Linked DNA regions of Homo sapiens: all the other regions are linked to region 3. The links are contacts of gene promoters, found by promoter capture Hi-C in blood cells and fetal thymus (Javierre and others, 2016). All regions are on one chromosome and are shown on one strand. The core of a region is centred on a gene start or on the middle of the fragment in contact, and the rest is flanking DNA. Distances in the headings are between cores, read along the strand shown.

What was found. The method cuts DNA at HindIII sites, captures the fragments that hold promoters and counts their contacts. A CHiCAGO score of 5 or more calls a contact.
Region 1: a fragment that was not itself captured here is called in contact with the fragment with the promoter of HAUS6 in region 3 in 8 of 17 cell types (naive CD8 T cells, total CD8 T cells, erythroblasts and 5 more); the score reaches 9.1 in naive CD8 T cells.
Region 2: a contact is called between a fragment that was not itself captured here and the fragment with the promoter of HAUS6 in region 3, in 14 of 17 cell types (erythroblasts, total CD8 T cells, total CD4 T cells and 11 more). The highest score is 13.9, in erythroblasts.
Region 4: a contact is called between a fragment that was not itself captured here and the fragment with the promoter of HAUS6 in region 3, in 6 of 17 cell types (M0 macrophages, M2 macrophages, M1 macrophages and 3 more). The highest score is 15.7, in M0 macrophages.

The regions. Positions count from the first base shown.
Region 1 is chr9:19,304,704-19,309,275 of GRCh38, reverse strand. It overlaps DENND4C (DENN domain containing 4C), which reads right to left. Exons shown (of 33, transcript NM_001330640.2): 10 at 3,749-3,924. Among named protein-coding and RNA genes, the nearest start is that of RPS6, 73 kb to the left of the region's middle. The HindIII fragment of the contact is 6,309 bases long and covers 1-4,572 here.
Region 2 is chr9:19,322,439-19,327,024 of GRCh38, reverse strand. It overlaps DENND4C (DENN domain containing 4C), which reads right to left. Exons shown (of 33, transcript NM_001330640.2): 13 at 2,518-2,663; 14 at 1,051-1,086; 15 at 831-961. Among named protein-coding and RNA genes, the nearest start is that of RPS6, 56 kb to the left of the region's middle. The HindIII fragment of the contact is 1,053 bases long and covers 1,745-2,797 here.
Region 3 is chr9:19,099,333-19,104,280 of GRCh38, reverse strand. HAUS6 (HAUS augmin like complex subunit 6) reads left to right here and starts at 1,377. Exons shown (of 17, transcript NM_017645.5): 1 at 1,377-1,757. The coding sequence starts at 1,630. RefSeq lists an enhancer at 1,135-1,698. The HindIII fragment of the contact is 8,228 bases long and covers 1-4,948 here.
Region 4 is chr9:19,280,655-19,285,881 of GRCh38, reverse strand. The region is part of intron 2 of DENND4C (DENN domain containing 4C); the gene reads right to left. Among named protein-coding and RNA genes, the nearest start is that of DENND4C, 53 kb to the right of the region's middle. The HindIII fragment of the contact is 9,952 bases long and covers 1-5,227 here.

The sequences.
Region 1 (4,572 bases), core at 785-3,284, 200 kb before region 3:
TAGTTTTGTTTTGTTAGTAGAGATGGGGTTTCTCCATGTTGGTCAGGCTGGTCTCAAACTCCCGACCCCAGGAGATCCACCCGTCTCAGCCTCTCAAAGTACTGGGATTACAGGCGTGAGCCACCACTCCCGGCCTACAAGCAATTTTAGAATATTTTTATCACCTCAAAAAGAAATCCCATAGTCACTTAGCTTCCAATACTCCCATCCTCTTCATTCCAAGGCAATCACTAATCAATCTACTTTCTACCTCTAGAGATTTGTCTGCTTTGGACATTTCATTGAATTATAATATAAGGTCTTTTAACATAATGTTTTCAAGGTTCATTCATGTTGTAGACAACTTAATTTTAAAGCCATTAAGACAGTATAATACTGGCAAGAGATTGAAGCAAATCAAAGGAAAAGAATTAGCCCAGATACATATTTATACAAATGTAGAAACTGATATGTCACATCAAGTTTAGCTGAATTAAATAACTAAATGAGAGAGGCAAACCTCACAACTTAAGAAATAACCATGATAGTATTTCATGGCCTCAAGGCAAAATATCTCATATACAAGAACCAAAAACAGTACTCCATAAAGAGAAATTAATAAATTTGATAAATTAAGATGAGCCCCTGTTTATCAAAAGATACCATAAACACAATGGAATGACAGGTCACAATGTGGGAGAAGCTATCTGGAATGCATACAGCAGACAAAGAATTAATTCCAGATTATATATACAATTTCTACAAATCAAAAGAAAAAGACAAACAATCTAACAGGAAAATGTACCAACAAAAGGAACATCCAATTCACAGGAGAGGAAAACCAAGGGGCACAAAGATATGAAAATCCTCCATTTGCTACTAATAAAGGAAATGTGAATTAAAGCCACAGTGAAATACCATTACCATCAAATTGGTAAAAAATTTAAAAGTCACCACAAGTGTTGGCAAAGATATGAAACAAAGAGAACTCTCATCTGCTGAGGACGGAGTAAACTTGGGAGAGTAATCTGGTATTAGCTATTAAGTTGAAAATGCTCATTCCCTACCAAGCAACATTAGCGCTTCCAGGTATATGCTTCAGAGGAATTCCTGAGCATATACTCAAGGAAATATATACGATGATCAGAACAGCTTTGTTCCTAACATCAAAGATCTAGATACAACCTAGATGTCCATCAACATTGATCACTGTTGAAAATGAACTGAATGAACCTCACAAAGAATGGTGAGCAAAAAAGTAATTCACAGAAAACTATTCAAGTAGAAAAAAATTTATAAGTATGCAAAACAAAATTTTATTTAGATTAATATATATATAATAAATGTTTGAAAAATACATGTATGTGATAAACTCCAAATCTAAGATGATGGTTGGATTTGGAGTTTATCCAAGATGATGGTTGGATCTGGAGCTCCTCTCTGGGAGAAAGGAGCAAAATATGGTTGTGGAGGACTATCTAGGGATTTCAGATTTATTGCTAATATTTTCTTTTTTTTTTTTTTTTTGAGACAGAGTCTCGCTCTGTCGCCCAGGCTGGAGTGCAATGGCATGATCTCCGCTCACTGCAACCTCCACCTCCTCAGTTCAAGCAATTCTCTTGCCTCAGACTCCCGAGTAGTTGGGATTACAGGCGCCCACCACCATGCCTGGCTAATTTTTGTGTTTTTAGTAGAGACGGAGTTTCACCATGTTGGCCAGGGTGGTCTTGAACTCCTGACCTCAGGTGATCCATCTGCCTCGGCCTCCCAAAGTGCTGGGATTACAGGCATGAGCCACTGTGCCCGGCCTATTTCTTAATAAAGTTGTGGTGAATAGATACAAGTTATTTACATTATTCTGTATAATTTGGAGGTATTTCTTCTTTTTTTTTTTTTTTTTTTTGAGACAGAGTCTTGCTCTGTTACCCAGGCTGCAGTGCAGTGGGTCAACATGGGTCACTGCAGCCTCGACCTCCTGGACTACAGTGATCTTTCCTCCTCAGCTGCCTGTGTAGCTGGGACTACAGGCACGCACCACCACTCCTAGCTAATTTTTTATTTTATGTAGATGGAGTCTCACCAAGTTGCCCGGGCTGGCCTTAAACTCCTGGGCTCAAGTGATCCTCCTGCCTCAGCCTCCGAAAGTACTGAGATTAAAGGTGTGAGACACTACACCTGGGCACATTTTATAATTCTTTAAACACAATTGAGCATGCCGGGCACAGTGGCTCATGCCTGTAATCCCAGCACTTTGGGAGGCCAAGGTGGGTGGATCACCTGAGGTCAGCAGTTCAAGACCAGCCTGGACAACATGGTAAAACCTCATCTCTACTAAAAATACAAAAAAATTAGCCAGGTGTGGTGGCACACGCCTGTTAATTCCCGCTACTCGGAAGGCTGAGGCAGGAGAATCACTTGATCCCAGGAGGCGGAGACTGCAGAGAGTCAGGATTGCACCACTGCAACTCTGTTGCCTGGGCAACACAGTGAGACTCTGTCTCAAAATAAATAAATAAATAAATAAATAAATAAATAAATAAATAAATAAATACAATTGTGCAAACACTTCACATTTATTTTAGAAAATAATGTTTTGATTACCAGAAGTTTTATAAAAGTTACTCAAAACTGCGCAAAATTAAGAATCTCCATATTATTTTATTCAGAATAAAAATAAAATAAGGTAAAAAATCTGAGTATTAACTTCACAAATAATCATTTCTAAAAGTACCACAATGAATACATTCCTGAAATAATTGTTTTTCAGGGAGAGTAGCCTACAAACAATAAAATGTGTGCTACAAAAAACTAATTCATGCAAGTTGTTCATTACTTTCAAGCTGTAAGTAAATCTAAATATACATAAGGAGCCACTATAGCTATACAGTTTCAAAATACAATGGTAGATCCATGTCAAAATTATATTTTAAGTTATAGCAAATGTTTTCTTCCTCCCTTAGGTTATTTTTTTGGTTCACATAAAAATATTTTCCCAACGAATTCTACTGTTGGAACTATTCAGGCCTTACCCAAAATATTTCTCTCTTCATTTTCTACCAATCTCAAACAGTAAAGAATAAAAGCGTTCTACGGCCTGGAAGTTGGCACCAACATAAGAACATTTTTAATACTTACTGTCCTTTCCCACTTTTGGTGGGGAAGTGGTAACCCTTAAACATCCATCCAGAACTATTTCTTTTATTAATGTAGTTTGCTACTCTCTGAACCCTCAGCTGTACCACTGCTGTACTTAATTATCACCTTCAGCAAACACAAACTATCACTGATTTTTAATATAAATTTCTAAGCAGTAAACAACAGATCCTTATAAAATTAAAATCCCGACAACTAAGCAAATGGTATAATATCACCCTATACTGTAGCCAAACTTTATCTCCAATGGGTAAACCCATTTTACTTACATATGGATTTTGAATTAAACCCAGAAAGCATATCATCTCTTGAGCTCTGAAAGCAGTGTTTAACCATTACTTTTCCAACTCATAGTCTCTTCTGATAAACATAAATATCTCCTGCTTACATTTAATATTGTTACCCAAATATAAACTATTATAATACTGAACATTTTTTTTTCCCAAATCACACAGCATTCCCAGATTCTGATACCTGCCCTGGTTGAGAGCTGCTGTATTTAAGACGAAGATTTAACAACTACCAAAAATAGCATATTTCTAGATGCTTTCAAAGAACTGTAACTCTACATAGTGAAAAATATAAATGGGAGATAATATAAAATGAATCAACTTACACATATAACATGTTCGTATCCAAGTCAATGCAAACAACATCTTGTGGTGGGTCATGAAGATCAAAATACCTTGAGTCAACTCCAACTATAAATGGTAAAGGTGCACTAAGCACTGCAGCCAGTGAAAGAGGACAAAGGGGAATATATGGGCATTGCCACTGAAATGGAAAGATCATCTGGGGAAAAAGTTTTAAAAAATTAACCAAATTTTAAATTTGCAATAAAAAATATATAAGTAACTAGTATTACTGAAAAGGGACCACTGAAAAGCAGTTAAGTCTGTTTTGTTTACCTTAAACTTCATTCCAAAACTAAATGACTATAAAATACTACTAAGCAATGCTAAGAACAAATGTAATTAAAATTTTCAAGCCATGACGATGATCATAAGCACAATAAAAATACTAACAGCTTTTTGCATGTTAATTCTTCTAGTATCTATACAAAGCACACATTCCAATTTTATGGAAAGAATCAAAATAAAATAAAATGGCCCCAAATATCATAAAATAAACTTATTATCTTTAACTCTTACACATTTCATTCACCTATTAATTCTCAAAATTACCTCAGATCAAAATCCAACTAAAAGCATCCAGGATTTAAAAAAAAAAAAAAACTAATTATTTTCCAGGGAATGCTAACAGATAATTAAAGAGCTCAACAAAAAAAAATTCATGGCCGGGCGCGGTGGCTCACGCCTGTAATCCCAGCACTTTGGGAGGCCAAGGCGGGTGGATCACAAGGTCAGGAGATCGAGACCATCCTGGCTAACAAGGTGAAACCCCGTCTCTACTAAAAAAAAAAAAAAAAAGTACAAAAAA
Region 2 (4,586 bases), core at 1,022-3,521, 220 kb before region 3:
ATGTACTTACTTTACTTTCTATTTTAGAAATTCTTTTAGAAATGCAGCCTAAGAAAATAACAAAGATATAGATAGCAAAGAACTACAAACAAATCCATGAGGCTAGTTAAATAAATCATAATAAATGCATACAATGTGGTCATTACAAATGATAAGGCACAAAAATATTTAATGGCATGGGAAAATGTTCAGACCACTAAAGGCAAACATAGATTACAAAGAGAATCTACCTGATGAACTCATACATGCAATACATACACACACACATCCACATGATACATACATACCTACAATTGTTAAGAGACACAAGTATTGGTGCTAGAATGATGTATTAGTTTTCCATTTTGGTTTGATTTTCTAAGTTTATTAAATTTATAGCAATAAAAAAACTACAAAATCCATTCTAATTTCTTAAAAGAGTCACATCCAAATCCTATCCTTTATCTTAATAAAGAATAAATTCCTGGCCCTCTACCTTAAGTTTTCTTGGTAAATTACTAATTCATAAGAATTTCACAGTCTTTGTTTCAAAATGAAACTCCCAAAGGGAGCAGGGAGCCTCATAAAAGTATCATTTTTCTTCTTCAGAATTGAAACTTTTAAAGATTAAAATACAAACACTAAGGTAAACAATGATCAACATCTGACAATACCATCCAATTCTTAAATTATAACACCTAGTGGCATTTCCATAAAATATTTATCTACATTAGTTCACTGAACTAATACTGAAAATGAGTTTCACAAAAGACTAATATACATATCTACTAATAAAAATTAAAAGAAACTGATAGGCTGTGCCATTAAGCTCTTTTAAAACTTCCTACTACCTGTACTTTGGTGACAGGTCCTTTCCATCATCAGGAGGTGGCTCTGGCGGCATTATAAATACAGTATGCTCACTTTTCTGTGAATCATCTAGTTCTATCAATCTGGTATCTTCTGCTGAATCAAAATCAACCTGAAAATCATTATTTTTCCCCAATTAATTTGCATACAAACAAGATCTAATTCTGAAATTTCAACCCTTAAAATCTAAGAAAAACATACCTTATCTGTTTTCTCTGTGCCTTTATCAGGAAACAACTAGAAAAAAAGAAAACAGATTCTTAATGAAAATGTCCACTATGAATTTAATAGACATTTTTATCTTACATTCTGATTTAGAAAAAAACTACCCCTTTTCAGTACCAGCTGATACAAAACATGCACAGTATATTTTTAGGCTGAATACATACTCTTAGGCTAAAGCATAATTTTTTACTTGTGGCTATTAGGATAGAAAACTATTTTGATTAGTTGTTTTGTAAACCTTAAGACAAAAGATGACCAATCACAAGGTTATCTGGCTTCTCAAATAAAAAATTTCATTATTATTAAGCCCCTTTATTAGTGATTGACATTAAACTTCTCATATAACTGGAAGATACTGGAATATCAATTTTGTAAATAAACAAAAATGTTGAATAGTTTTAATTATATCCCTGGAATTTTGGATCACACTGATAGGAGAAAATTATTTAAATCTTCTAAGGCATATGAATCATGAGGGGGCCATAAAAATTAATGTCATAATATTCAACTTTTTTTGGATACAATCTCAAATGTTATATAATATACAGTTTGCATAAACAATTGGCCCCAAGATCTACTTAGCAAAAATAAGAATTATATTAAAAGTTAGGAAAAATTATAACTAAGTCAAGAATCAATTTTAACTTCCTTAGGATGGGTGGGTAAAGCTTTAAAATTTAACGTATTTCCACCCTCCATTAGAACAAAAGAAACATATTAGGCAAAAGAATCTGGAAAGACATTAAAACAAAAGAACATAGAACTTCTATTACCCATAAAACTAAACATTTTTTAATTAAAAAACCTAAATCTTAAACTAAATCTTATTCATTTAAATTAAAAAAATATAAACTCACAAGGCTCAAGAAAATGTTCTTAGTTTTACAACTCAATAGTTGTAAAACGAAAGTGAGATTTAAAGAGAAAATTTACTGGCTGGGCATGGCGGCTCATCCTGCAATCCCAAGGATTTGGGAGGCCAAGGCGGGAGGATCACTTGAGCCCAGGAGTTTGAGACCAGCCTGGGCAATACAGTGAGACCTCATCTCTACCAAAAATTAAAAAAACTAGCTGGGCGTAGCACATGCCTGTAGTCCCAGCTACTCAGAAGGCTAAGGTGGTAAAATCACTTCAGGCAAGAAGTTCAAAGTTGCAATGAGCTATGATCATGCCACTGCACCCTAGCCTGGGTAACAGAATGAGATGCTGTTTCAATCAATGGATCAATGAATAAAGAATAGAAAAATTGGCTATATGTGGTAGAAACTTGAAACCACAAAGAATTTTATTCATATATTCAGCCCAGAATCGGTAACACATACACACACATACACAACCCTACTCTGTTTTCCTTATATCACTCTAGACTAACAATAACAATGATAATTACACAGGTAAGGCAAACTTTTTTTTCTAAACACTAGTATAAGTACAAACTTTTACCTTTTCTATGCAGTCATCAAAAAATGCTAATCCAGTATCTTTATCACTTACAAAACTGCATTCTTCAATGAAACGAATAAAAATCTGTGTTTTGGATAAAAGGGTATAGAATTTTGCATAGGCACGATCTCGACTTTTTAAAAATCCTGAGGAAAACAAAATATAATTAAATTCAAATTTTAAACTGGAATTCGATATTATAGGAAACATTAAACTTGTACTTATCTATATTACATTCTCTTTATATATACATATATATATCCATATTTAAAAAGAAGCTTCTATAGGTTGAGTATCTCTTATCTGAAATGCTTGGGACCAAAAGTGTTTCAGATTTCGGATTTTTTTTTTTAAGATTTTGAAATATTTGCATGTGCACAATCACATATCTTGGGGATGAGACCCAAGTAAACAGGAAATTCATTTATGTTTCACATATACATTATACACACAGTCTGAAGGGAATGTTATACAATATTTTCAATGATCTTGTGCATGAAACAAAGTGTGTGTTAAGTACTTACGTGTAGAATTTTCCACTTGTGGCATAATGTCAGCCCTCAGAAAGTTTCAGATTCTGCAGCATCTCAGGTTTTGGATTTTTAGATTAGGGAAGCTCAACCTGTGGTAACTGCATATATAGCTCCTTCTGCCTAATTAAACCACGAAAAATACTTCTATCAAACTCTTCACTGAAATCTAAATCCCCTATAAGGAACCTCCAGCTCTACAACTTTTAAGTAGAAATTTCTCTGATACTCTGCATACTCTTGAGTCCATGGTCAATTTCCAAAGAGTCAATGTCCTTCCTCTTTAATGTTGCAAGACCATTATTTCTGTATTGTGTTTTTAAAATTTCTGCTCATTAAAGTTTCAAGCATCTGACTATTCCACAATTTCCTCTATTAATCGTAGACATCTATTGATTTCAGGGACACTCCTTCATTCACTGAAGACCAAGGCATCTGATTCAAGGTCTCCTCCTTTCTAATTCCTACCACCATCATTCTTCCACACCCAGAAGCACAAACCATGAAAACACTTTAGATTCTTCTTCATTCCTTTTTTTTTTTTTTTCCAGACAGAGTCTAGCTCTGTCGCCCAGGCTGGAGTGCAGTAATGTGATCTTGGCTCACTGCAACCTCTGCCTCCCAGGTTTAAGTGATTCTCCTGCCTCAGCCTCCTGAGTAGCTGGGATTACAGGTGCCCATCACCACGACTGGCTAATTTTTGTATTTTTAGTAGAGACGGTTTCACCATGTTGGCCAGGCTGGTCTTGAACGGACCTCAGGTGATCAGCCCGCCTTGGCCTCCCAAAGTTCTGGGATTACAGGCGTGAGCCACTGCACCTAGCCTCTTTTCTTTTAAGAGATGGGTGTCTTGCTATGTTGACAAGGCTGGTCTCGAATTCCTGGCCTCAAGTGATCCTCCCATCTCAGCCTCCCAAAGTGCTAGAATTACAGGCATGAGCCATCATGCCCAGCCTTCATTCCTTGATTTTCAGTGATCCTATGCTCCATCCTACCTCAATCACCAACTTCAACACACAGTCACAGTCCCTTGACTTTCCTTGCCAGCATTCAAAACAACATTGCCTCTCAAATCTCTTTTTCACATCACTCCCAGCCCATTAGCTCTGCCTATCTGGTCTCCTTAATTAAGTATTTCTACTAAGTGTTTTAGGGTTTTTTGGGTTTTTTGTGCAGGGAGCAGAGAGGGAAGGCTCATGGAAATCTCCAATCCACTGGCCCCCTTATTTTTTTTTTTTTTTTTTTTGAGATGAAGTCTCACTGTATTGCCCAGGCTGGAGTGCAGTCAATCTTGGCTCACTGCAAGCTCTGCCTCCCGGGTTCATGCCATTCTCCTGCCTCAGCCTCCTGAGAAGCTGGGACTACAGGCGCCCGCCACCACGCCTGGCTAATTTTTCACTGTGTTAGCCAGGATGGTCTCCATCTCCTGACCTCGTGATCCGCCCACCTCGGCCTCCGAAAGTGCGGGGATTACAGGCCTGAGCCACCGCGCCTGGCCTCCACTGGCCCTTTTACTTCTATGTACATCCTCCCATCTTC
Region 3 (4,948 bases), core at 128-2,627:
AGACGGGGTTTCTACATGTTGGTCAGGCTGGTCTCGAACTCCCCACCTCAGGTGATCCGCCCACCTTGGCCTCCCAAAGTGCTGGGATTATAGGCGTGAGCCACTGTGCCCCGCCTCTCTCTCTTTTATTAAGGTGATTTTAGTGAGGCAGGAGACAATCATTGCCAGAGGTAGCAATGAGACTTAAAAGCAGGTTACCCAATCCACTTCCAGGCCCTGTTGTCAGTGGGGTTTGTGGTAGGCAACAGCTGTCAATTAAGACGACGGGCCGGGTGCGGTGGCTCACGCCTATAATCCCAGCACTTCGGGAGGCCGAGGAGGGCGGATCACGAGGTCAGGAGATCGAGACCATCCTGGCTAACAGGGTGAAACCCCGTCTCTACTAAAAATACAAAAAATTAGCCCGGCGTGGTGGTGGGAGCCTGTAGTCCCAGCTACTCGGGAGGCTGAGGCAGGAGAATGGCGTGAACCTGGGAGGCGGAGCTTGCAGTGAGCCGAGATTGCGCCACTGCACTCCAGCCTGGGAGACAGAGCTAGACTCCGTCTCAAAAAAAAAAAAAAAAAAAAAAAAAAAATTAAGAGGACTGCAGGCGGCCAGGCGCAGTGGCTCACGCCTGTAATCCCAGCACTTTGGGAGGCCAAGACCGGCAGATAACCTGAGGTCAGGAGTTCGAGACCAGCCAGCCAACATGGTGAAACCCCGTCTCCATTAAAAATACAAAAAAATTAGCCGGGCGTGGTGGCGGACACCTGTTAATCCCAGCTACTCGGGAGGCTGAGGCAGGAGAATCGCTTGAACCCGGGAGGCGGAGGTTGCAGTGAGCCGAAATCGCGTCACTGCACCCCAACTTGAGCAACAAGAGCGAAACCCCGTCTCAAAAAAAAAAAAAAAAAAAAAAAAGACTGCAGGACTGCAGGGGAGTATAGAGCCAGATTTCATTTAAAGCAGGAAAAGGAACATCCGGCATTTGAGGACATAGATTTCGCTAACGACAGAAATGAGGCTCAGAGATTACGTGACTTGATTAGAGTCACAGTGAGCATAGCGGAGGATGGAACCAATGCTTTAACTCTACACCGAGGCATAGTGCTCCATTTATGGCTTTTTTGTGACGTAACAACTAGGATACACAAGCAAATGGACCCCACTAACCAAGAATCAGAAACCCGAAGGCCCGAGGATCTGGGCACGACAGCGGTTAAGCAAGCGCAGAGCAAGTCGCTGGCCGCGCAATGCCCGGTGGGTCTTGCAGTTTCTTGGCTGGGCATGGCCGGAAGGGAGGAGAGAAGGACGCATTGCATGGCGGGAGATATAGTCTTTGCCGGAAGTCCCTCCTCCCTCGGACGCCTGGCGGCGCCGGCGCACACTGCTCTTCCTTAAGGGCGGGAGTCTCGGTTTGTGGTGGCTTCGCTGAGGCAGTGGTGGCCGCACTATACCGTTAGAAACTCAATTTCCCGGAGGTTGTGAGGCCCTTTGAGGCGAAATCGCTCTGGGCGTGAAAGGAGCAGGCGTTGGCAATGGAAGGACCACCGCGACCTCAGGCTGACCGTAGGGAGGGATCTTGAGGGCCCTCCGAGTCCCCTGGGCTTGCGCTTTCTTTCTTTGCAGCCACCGTGCCTACCGCGAGGATGAGCTCGGCCTCGGTCACCGCTTTCGAGAAGGAGCATCTCTGGATGTATCTGCAGGCGCTCGGCTTCGAGCCAGGCCCGGCAACCATTGCCTGCGGAAAGATCGTGTCGCACACGCACCTCGGAGTGTAAGGAGGCCGGGGCCGGCGGGGCGAGGGAGCCTGAACCGGGGGACGCCGGGGGACTCCCCCTTTTGTAGACCCCGGAGGTTGATTAATCAGAATTGGTTGAGCAGTTACTCTGTGCCAGGCATTGGCTCCAAAGTTCCTACTCCCAGTTGCTGCCAGCCTAGGGGCAGAGACAGACAGTAAATAATGCAAGAGTGCCGGAAGCGCTCTGTAGGGGAGTGCAAAAGTCTGCAGATGGGGAGAGTGCAAGACTGGAGGAGCAGCTTAACTCTGCCTATGTGGTGGAGGGGTGGTCTGTGAAGTAGTGGGAGGGATGGCGGGTGGTAGTGGAAGAGCATGGGAACCATATGTACAAAACACCTTTTGGACTCAAGGGAGCCTTTGAAGGTGGTTGTTTAATTTTATAATTTTTAATTTTTTAATTAGTAAGGCATGTTGGAGTTAGCATAAAACAACGGAGAAGGGTATTAAAAACAAATACCCTTTTAAGAAAAGTATGGAAAGTAAAAGCCCCTTCCCTACTTTTTCCACTTCTGTTTTATCAACTTTAGCCAGTATCTCTATTTAATCATTCCCACTGTAGGCCAAGAGGAATTCTTTTCTTTCATATGGAGTCTCCCTCTGTTGCCAGGCTGGAGTGCAGTGGCACGATCTCGGCTCACTGCACCCTCCAACTCCCTGGTTCAAGCGATTCTCCTGCCTCAGCCTCCCGAGTAGCTGGGATTACAGGCACTTGCCACCACGCCCAACCAATTTTTGTATCTTTAGTAGAGACGGGGTTTCACCATGTTGGCCAGGATGGTCTCGATCTCCTGAGCTCATGATCCACCTGCCTCGGCCTCCCAAAGTGCTGGGATTACAGGCGTGAGCCACCGTGCCCGGCCTCTATTTTTTTAAAGTATTATTATTTTAGAGACAGTAGCTAACCATGTTGCCCAGGCTGGTCTCAAAATTCCTGGGCTCAAGCAATCCTCCTGCTTCGGTCTTCCAAAGTGCTGGGATTATAGATATGAGCCATTGTTTTTTGTTTTGAGACAGGGTCTCCCACTCTGTCGCCCAGTCTGGAGTGCAGTTGTGCGATCACAGCTCACTGCAGCCTCCAACTCCTGGGCTCAGGCGATCCTCCCACTTCACCCTCCTGAGTAGCTGGGACTACAGGTGCGTGGCACCATGCCTAGGGTCGGCATGTTGCCCAGGCTGGTCTTGAGCTCCTGGCCTCCAGCAATCCCCCCGCCTTGGCCACTCCAAGTGCTGGGATTACAGATGTGAGCCACCGAGCCTGGCCTGTTTTATTTATGTTCATAGTTGTACATATTTTGGGGATATAAAATTTTGATATTTTGATACACTTATACAATGTATAAGGATCAGATCAGGATAAATGGGATAGCCATCATCTCAAACATTTATCTTTCCTTTGTGTTGGAAACATTTCAGTTCTTTTCTAGCTATTTTAAAATACACAATAAATTATTTTTAACTATAGTTTCACTTATGTACTATTGAACACTAGAACTTATTCCTTCTATCTAACTGTATATTTGTACCCATTAATCAACTTCTCTTCCTCCCTCCTTCTCTCCTTTTCCTTTCCTAGACTGTGTTAACCACCATTCTACTCCCTACCTCCATGAGGTCCACTTTTTTTGCTTTCACATGTGAGAACATGTGATATTTGTCTTTCCGTGCCTGGTTTATTTTACTTAAGATAATGACCTCCAGTCCCATCCATGTTGCTGCAGATGACAGGATTTTCTTCTTTTTGTGTGGCTGAATAATATTCCATTGTGTATATATACCACAATTTCTTTATCCATTCATCTGTTTTCTTTATCCATTCAACTTAGGTTGATTCTGTATCTCGACTATTGTGAATAATGTGTCACTAAACATGGGAGTGCAGATGCCTCTTTCATATACTGATCTCCTTCCTTTTGGATATATACCCAGCAGTGGGATTGCTGGATCATAGGGTACTTCTATTTTTAGTTTTTTAAGGAGCCTATGGTTTCCCATAATGGCTGTACTACTTTACATTCCACCAACAAAGTACAAGCATTCCCTTTTCTCTGCAGGATCCACCATCTTGTAACACATGTCCACTTTAAATGCTTTCAACATGGATGTGGCATTAAATTTACTTTTTTGTTTTTATTTTTTGAGATAGTCTGGCTCTGTCTCTCAGGCTGGAGTGCAGTGGCCTGAATGTGGCTCACTGCAGCCTCCATCTCCTGGGCTCAAGCGATCCTTCCTTCCACTTCAGCCTCCCGAATAGCTGGAATTACAGGTGCCTGCTGCCACGCCTGGCTAGTTTTAATTCTTTTTTTTTTGAGATGGAGTCTTGCTCTGTCGCCCAGGCGGGAGTGCAGTGGTGCGATCTGGACTCACTGCAACCCCCGCCTCCCTGGTTCAAGCAATTCTCTGCCTCAGCCTCCTGAGTAGCTGGGAATACAGGCGCCTGCCACCACGCCTGGCTAATTTTTTTGTATTTTTAGTAGAGACCGGGTTTCTCCATCTTAGCCAGGCGGAATCTTAAATTCCTGACCTTGTGATCCACCTGCCTTGGCCTCCCAAAGTGCTGGGATTATAGGCCTGAGCCACCACACCTGGGCAGCTAAGTTTAATTCTATTCTTTTTGTAGAGATGGGTTCTCACTGTGTTGTGGAGGCTGGTCTTGACCCTCTGGGCTTAAGTGATCCTCCCGCGTCAGCCTCCCAAAGTGCTGGGATTACAGACATGAGCCACTGCACCCTGCCAAAGTTACTTTTAAAATTGCTCGATGCATTTGTAAATCCAGCTACTCAGAAGGCTGAGGTGGGAGATTGCTTGAGGCCAGAAATTTGAGACCAGCCTGGGCAACATAGTGAGACCCTGTCTCTTAAAAATGCAATTAGGCTAGGCATGGTGGTTCACACCTGTTAATCCCTGTGCTATGGGAGGGCAAGGTGGGAGTATTGCTTGAGCCCAGGAGTTTGAGGCTACAGTGAGCTATGATGGTAGCACTGCACTCCAGCCTGGGTAACAAGAGTGAGACCCTGTCTCTTAAAAACAAAAAAGAGGCCGGGTGCGGTGGCTCACGCCTGTAATTCCAGCACTTTGGGAGGCCGAGATGGGCGGATCACGAGGTCAGGAAATTGAGACCATCCTAGCTAACACGGTGAAACCCTATCTCTACTAAAAATACAAAAAAT
Region 4 (5,227 bases), core at 688-3,187, 180 kb before region 3:
AAGCCCTTATATTTGCAGTCAATTGATTTCAACAAGAGTGCCAAGACAATGCAATCAGGAAGGAATAGTCTTTTCAATATGTAGTGTTGGAATAACTGGATATCCACCTGCAAAAGCATGAAGCTGGACCCCTTCCTTATACTACTCATCAAAAAACTAAAAATGGATCAAAATCAATGTAAGAACTATAGCACTCTTTGAAAAACAGAAATAAATCTTTGTGACCTTAGGTTAGACAAAGCCTTCTTAGATATGACACCAAAAGCACAAGCAGCTAAACATGTTAAGTGAAAAAAAAAAAAAAAGTCACAAAGACCACATACAGTGATTCAGTTTTTAAGAAATGTCCAGAATAGGCAAATCCATACAGACAGAAAGTAGATTAATAGTTACCTAGGGGTAGAAGGTGGGAAAGAATACTAAATAGCAACTGCTAATGGGTATGGGGTTTCTTTTTAGGCTGATGAAAATGTTCTAAAATTAATTGTGGTGGTAGCTGCACAACACTGTAAACAATACTAAAAACCATTGAATTGTACACTTTAAGTAAGTGAACTGTATGACATGTGAATTGTATCTCCATAAAGCTGTTAAAACCCAACTAATATTAAAATGTACTATAAAGCCTCTTTATTTAAATCAGGAGAGTATTAGCAAGGAAGTGAACAGAAAGACAATGAAACAGAAGAAAAATCTAGTCTATCATGAAGGTAATTTCTCAATATACTAAGGGAAGAATGGATTTTTAAATGTAATAAGCAGGACTTAGATAACTGGATTGTTATTTGGAAAAAAATATTATTTGGAAAAAAATAAAATTCTGTCTATACTTCACACTACACACCAGAAGGGGATCCCCCGGTGGATCACAGATCTAAACATAAGGAATTAAATCATACTAGTGCTAAAAGTATATCTAGCAGTGGGAAAAGACTATGACTCAAAATCCAGTACCAATAAAATATGGGAGTAGAAAAATAAACTACATAAAATAAACGTTACATGACAACGAACACCATAAGCCAAGATAAAAGACAAGTTGACTGAAGAAAATACTTGGCAACTTATTTCACAAAAAGCTCATCTTCCTAACACATAAAAAATTTCCTTTAAAAAAATCAAGGTAAAGATTAAAAATCTGTTTATAGTATAAGCAAAAGAATAAAGAAAATCGCCCCTTAAACTTATGGAGCAATGATTAACCTCAATGAAATTACTCTGATACACCATTAATCTCTGTGAGATTGACAAAAAATATGTCAGACCACATACTTTGTTGATGGGATGTGGATTAAAAAAACACATATATGGCAGAATATAAAATGGCACAAACACTATAGAGAAAAATTTAGTAACATTTAACAAAATTATTTACACATTTATCTTTTAATCCAGCAATTTTTTCTAGGATCTACCTGAAAACACACCTCCACAAATACATAACAATAAATGCACAGTTATTCATCAAAGCATTCTTTTAATAGCACAAAACTGAGAACAATCCAAATGTCCATCAGTAGAGGTTTCATTGAATAAAGTAAATACATCCACACAAATAAGTATTATACAGTCACACACAAAAAATGAGGAAGATCTTATATTCAGATACAGAGTGATTGCCAGTATATACTCTTAGGTGAAAAAGGCAAAGTACAAAATAGGGTATAGAGTATCTACATTTTGTTTAAGAGAAAGAAATAGGCTAGGCACACTGGCTCCCACTTCCTTTCAATTAGCTTAGCAAACAAATGAAAAAAAATGTCAATTTGTAGGTGACAAGTATATTGTTCATTATTCTACAGTCTATCATCTAGGAGAAAAGGATACTTGTGTATTATAATAGTTTATCAACTTTTCACATGTTTGAAATTTCTCAAAAAACAAAAGAACTGGAGAAACAAATCAGTTGAAAGCCAATGAATCTGACAAAGGGAAGAAAATAAGAACTTCGTATGGTCTATGATTCTGTGTCTCAAGAAATGCATCTGGGCGGGCGCAGTGGCTCACGCCTATAATCCCAGCACTTTGGGAGACAGAAGTGGGCGGATCACCTGAGGTTGGGAGTTCGCAACCAGCCTGACCAACATGGAAAAACACCGTCTCTACTAAAAATAAAAAATTAGCCTGGCATGGTGGCAGGTGCCTGTAGTCCCAGCTACTGGCGGGGGTGGGGGTGAGGGGGCGCGGAGTTGCAGTGAGCCAAGATCGGGTCATTGCACTCTGGCCTGAGCAACAAGAACGAAACTCTGTCTCAAAAAAAAAAAAAAAAAAGAAAGAAAAAAGAAATGCATCTGATATATAAGATAACATACTGCCCTGTTTAAATTATACTATACAATCATGCACCACATAATGATGATGCAAGCACAGACTGCATATACTATGGTGGTGCCATAGATTATAATGGAGCTGAGAAATTCTTATCACCTAGTATTTACAATACTATACCTTTTATCATTACTTTAGAGTATATTCCTACTTACAAAAAAAGTTAACTGTAAAACAGTCTCAGGCAGGTCCTTCAGGAGGTATTCCAGAAGGCATTCTTATCATAGAAGACAGCTCTATGTGGGTTACTGCCCTGAAGACCTTCCAGTGGGACAAGATGTGGCGATGGAAGGCAGAGATAGTGATGATCCTGACTCTGTAGGGCTAGGCTAACATGTGTCTTTTTGTCTTAAATTTTAACAAAATAGTTTAAACAGTTAAAAAAAAAAATCCAGGCACAGTAGTTCATATCTATAATCCCAGCACTTTAAGGGGCCAATGCAGAATTGCTTGAGGCCAGGAGTTCAAGAACAGCCTGGGCAACATAGGAGGACCTCATCTTTGCAAAAAATTTCAAAATAAGAAAATAAAAACTGGTCAGAGGCGGTGGCTCACGCCTGTAATTCCAGCACTTTGGGAGGTCAAGATGGGTGGATCACTTGAGGTCAGGAGTTCAAAACCAGCCTGGCCAATATGGTGAAACCCTGTCTCTACTGAAAATAAAAAAAAATTAGCCAGGTGTGGTGGCAGATGCCTGTAATCGCAGCTACTCCAGAGGCTGAGGCAGGAGAATCACCTGAACCCAGGAAGCAGAGATTGTAGTGAGCCCCAATCATACCACTGCACTCCAGCCTGGAAGACAGAGTGAGACTCTGTCTCAAAAAAAAAAAAAAAAAAAGAGAGAAGAAAAAAAGAAAAAGAAAAACAAAAAATAAAGTTTAAAAACCAAGCTAGTGCCAGCTATTCAGCAGGCTGAGGCTGGATCACTTGAGCCTAGGAGTGCAATGCCAGCCTGGGCAACAAGGCAAGACCCCATTATTTTTTTTTTTTTTTTAATTTTTGCCAGGCGTGGTGGCACATGCCTGTAATCCCAGCACTTTGGGAGGCCAAGGCAAGCAGATCACTTGAGCTCAGGTGTTCCAGAGCAGCCTGGGCAACAAGGCGAAACCCCATCTCTACAAAAAGAAAATTAGCCAGGAGTGGTGGCATACACTTGTAGTTCAGCTACTCAGGAAGCTGAGGTGAAAGGATTATCGCCTGAGCCCAGGAGGTGGAGGCTGCAGTGAGCCTAGACTATACCACTACACTCCAGCCTGGGCAACAAAGTGAGACCCTGTCTCAAAAAATAAAAAATAAAAGAATAAATTTTTAAAATAAAATTTTAAAATACAAAAAAACTTAATAAAATAAGGATTTAAAGAAAGAAAAATATTTTTGTACAGCTGTATGGTAAGTGTTTTAAACTAAGTATTATTACAAAAGAATCAAAAAAATTAACAAAAACTTTAAAAGTTTATAAAGTAAAAAGGCTATAATAAAGCTAAAGTTAATTTACTAAAGTCTATAGTAGTATACAGTAATGTCCTAGGCCTTCATATTCACTCAACACTCACTCACTGACTCACCTAGAGCAACTTCCAGTCCTGCAAGGTCCATTCATGGTAAGTGCCCTATACAGGTGTGACTTATTTTTTATGCCAGATTTTTCTGTACCTTTTCTATGTTTAGATATACATATACTCACCACTGTGTAAGTTGCCTACAGTATCTATTACCCCAGTAACATGCTGTACAGGTTTGCAGCCTAAGAAAAATAGGCTATAGTTGTATATGTAGTAAGCTATGCCACCTAGGTTTGTGTATGTACACTCTATGATGTTCACACAATGACAAAATCGCCATAGAACACATTTCTCAGAATGTATTCCCATCGTTAAGTGATACATGATTGTACTTTATAGTATATACGGTATTTCTATGGGAATATCAGATTTTACATATTTTAACTTAACATCTTTTCTAGAGAAAAGTACTATTTTTATAAATACCTCATCTCAGTTTATAAAACAGTAAAAAAGACAAAAGTTTAGCAACAGTGTTTCATATTAAACTTAATGAGATGGGTGTCTGTATTTCCAGTAGCTAATAGGCTTTCCTACTATAAATACAGAAGCTAATAGGTTTTCCAAACCCCTTCACACTAGAGTGAGGAAAGAGTGGGGGGAAAGTGAGGAGAACAGGCCAAAACATTTAAGTCACCAGACATTAACAATTATTTGATCTGGAGAGAAATATTAACCATCATGATTAGCTTAAGGACAACCATACACTCTAGCAAATCTGTATCAATAAACTACCATAACAAAAATTAGAAGCCTTAGGAACTGCAAGATGTGTATGAAAAAGCCACTTGCAATCTGAAAGCACCTACATATAATTACGTAAGTCATCATTTTATTTTTAAGTTGTATCACAAGCAACAACAATTTTGCAGAGATTCACATCTTTCAGTCATGACTGTATGGGAGGGGTGGCAGGTGGGCTTGTCAAAAGATGGACTCTAAAAGACGACTGGCCCGGCACAGTGGCTCACTCCTGTAATCCCAGCACTTCGGGAGGCCGAGGTGAGCAGATTGCTTGAGTCCAGGAGCTCAAGACTAGCCTGGGCAACATGAGAAACCCCACCTCTACAAAAACTACAAAAACTTAGCCGGGTATGGTGGTGCTTGCCTGTAGTCCCAGCTACTCGGGAGGCTGAGGTGGGAGGACCACCTGAGCCCAGAAGGCGGAGGCTGCAGTAAGCTGTGATCACACCATTGCACTGCAGCCTGAGCAACCACAGTGAGACACTGTCTCAAAAAAATTCTCCTTATTTTTATATATTAAAAAAAACAATTTTTTTAATTAAAAAAAAAAGATGCCTAAAAGAGGGAACAGTGAATGCTGGAACACAAAATAA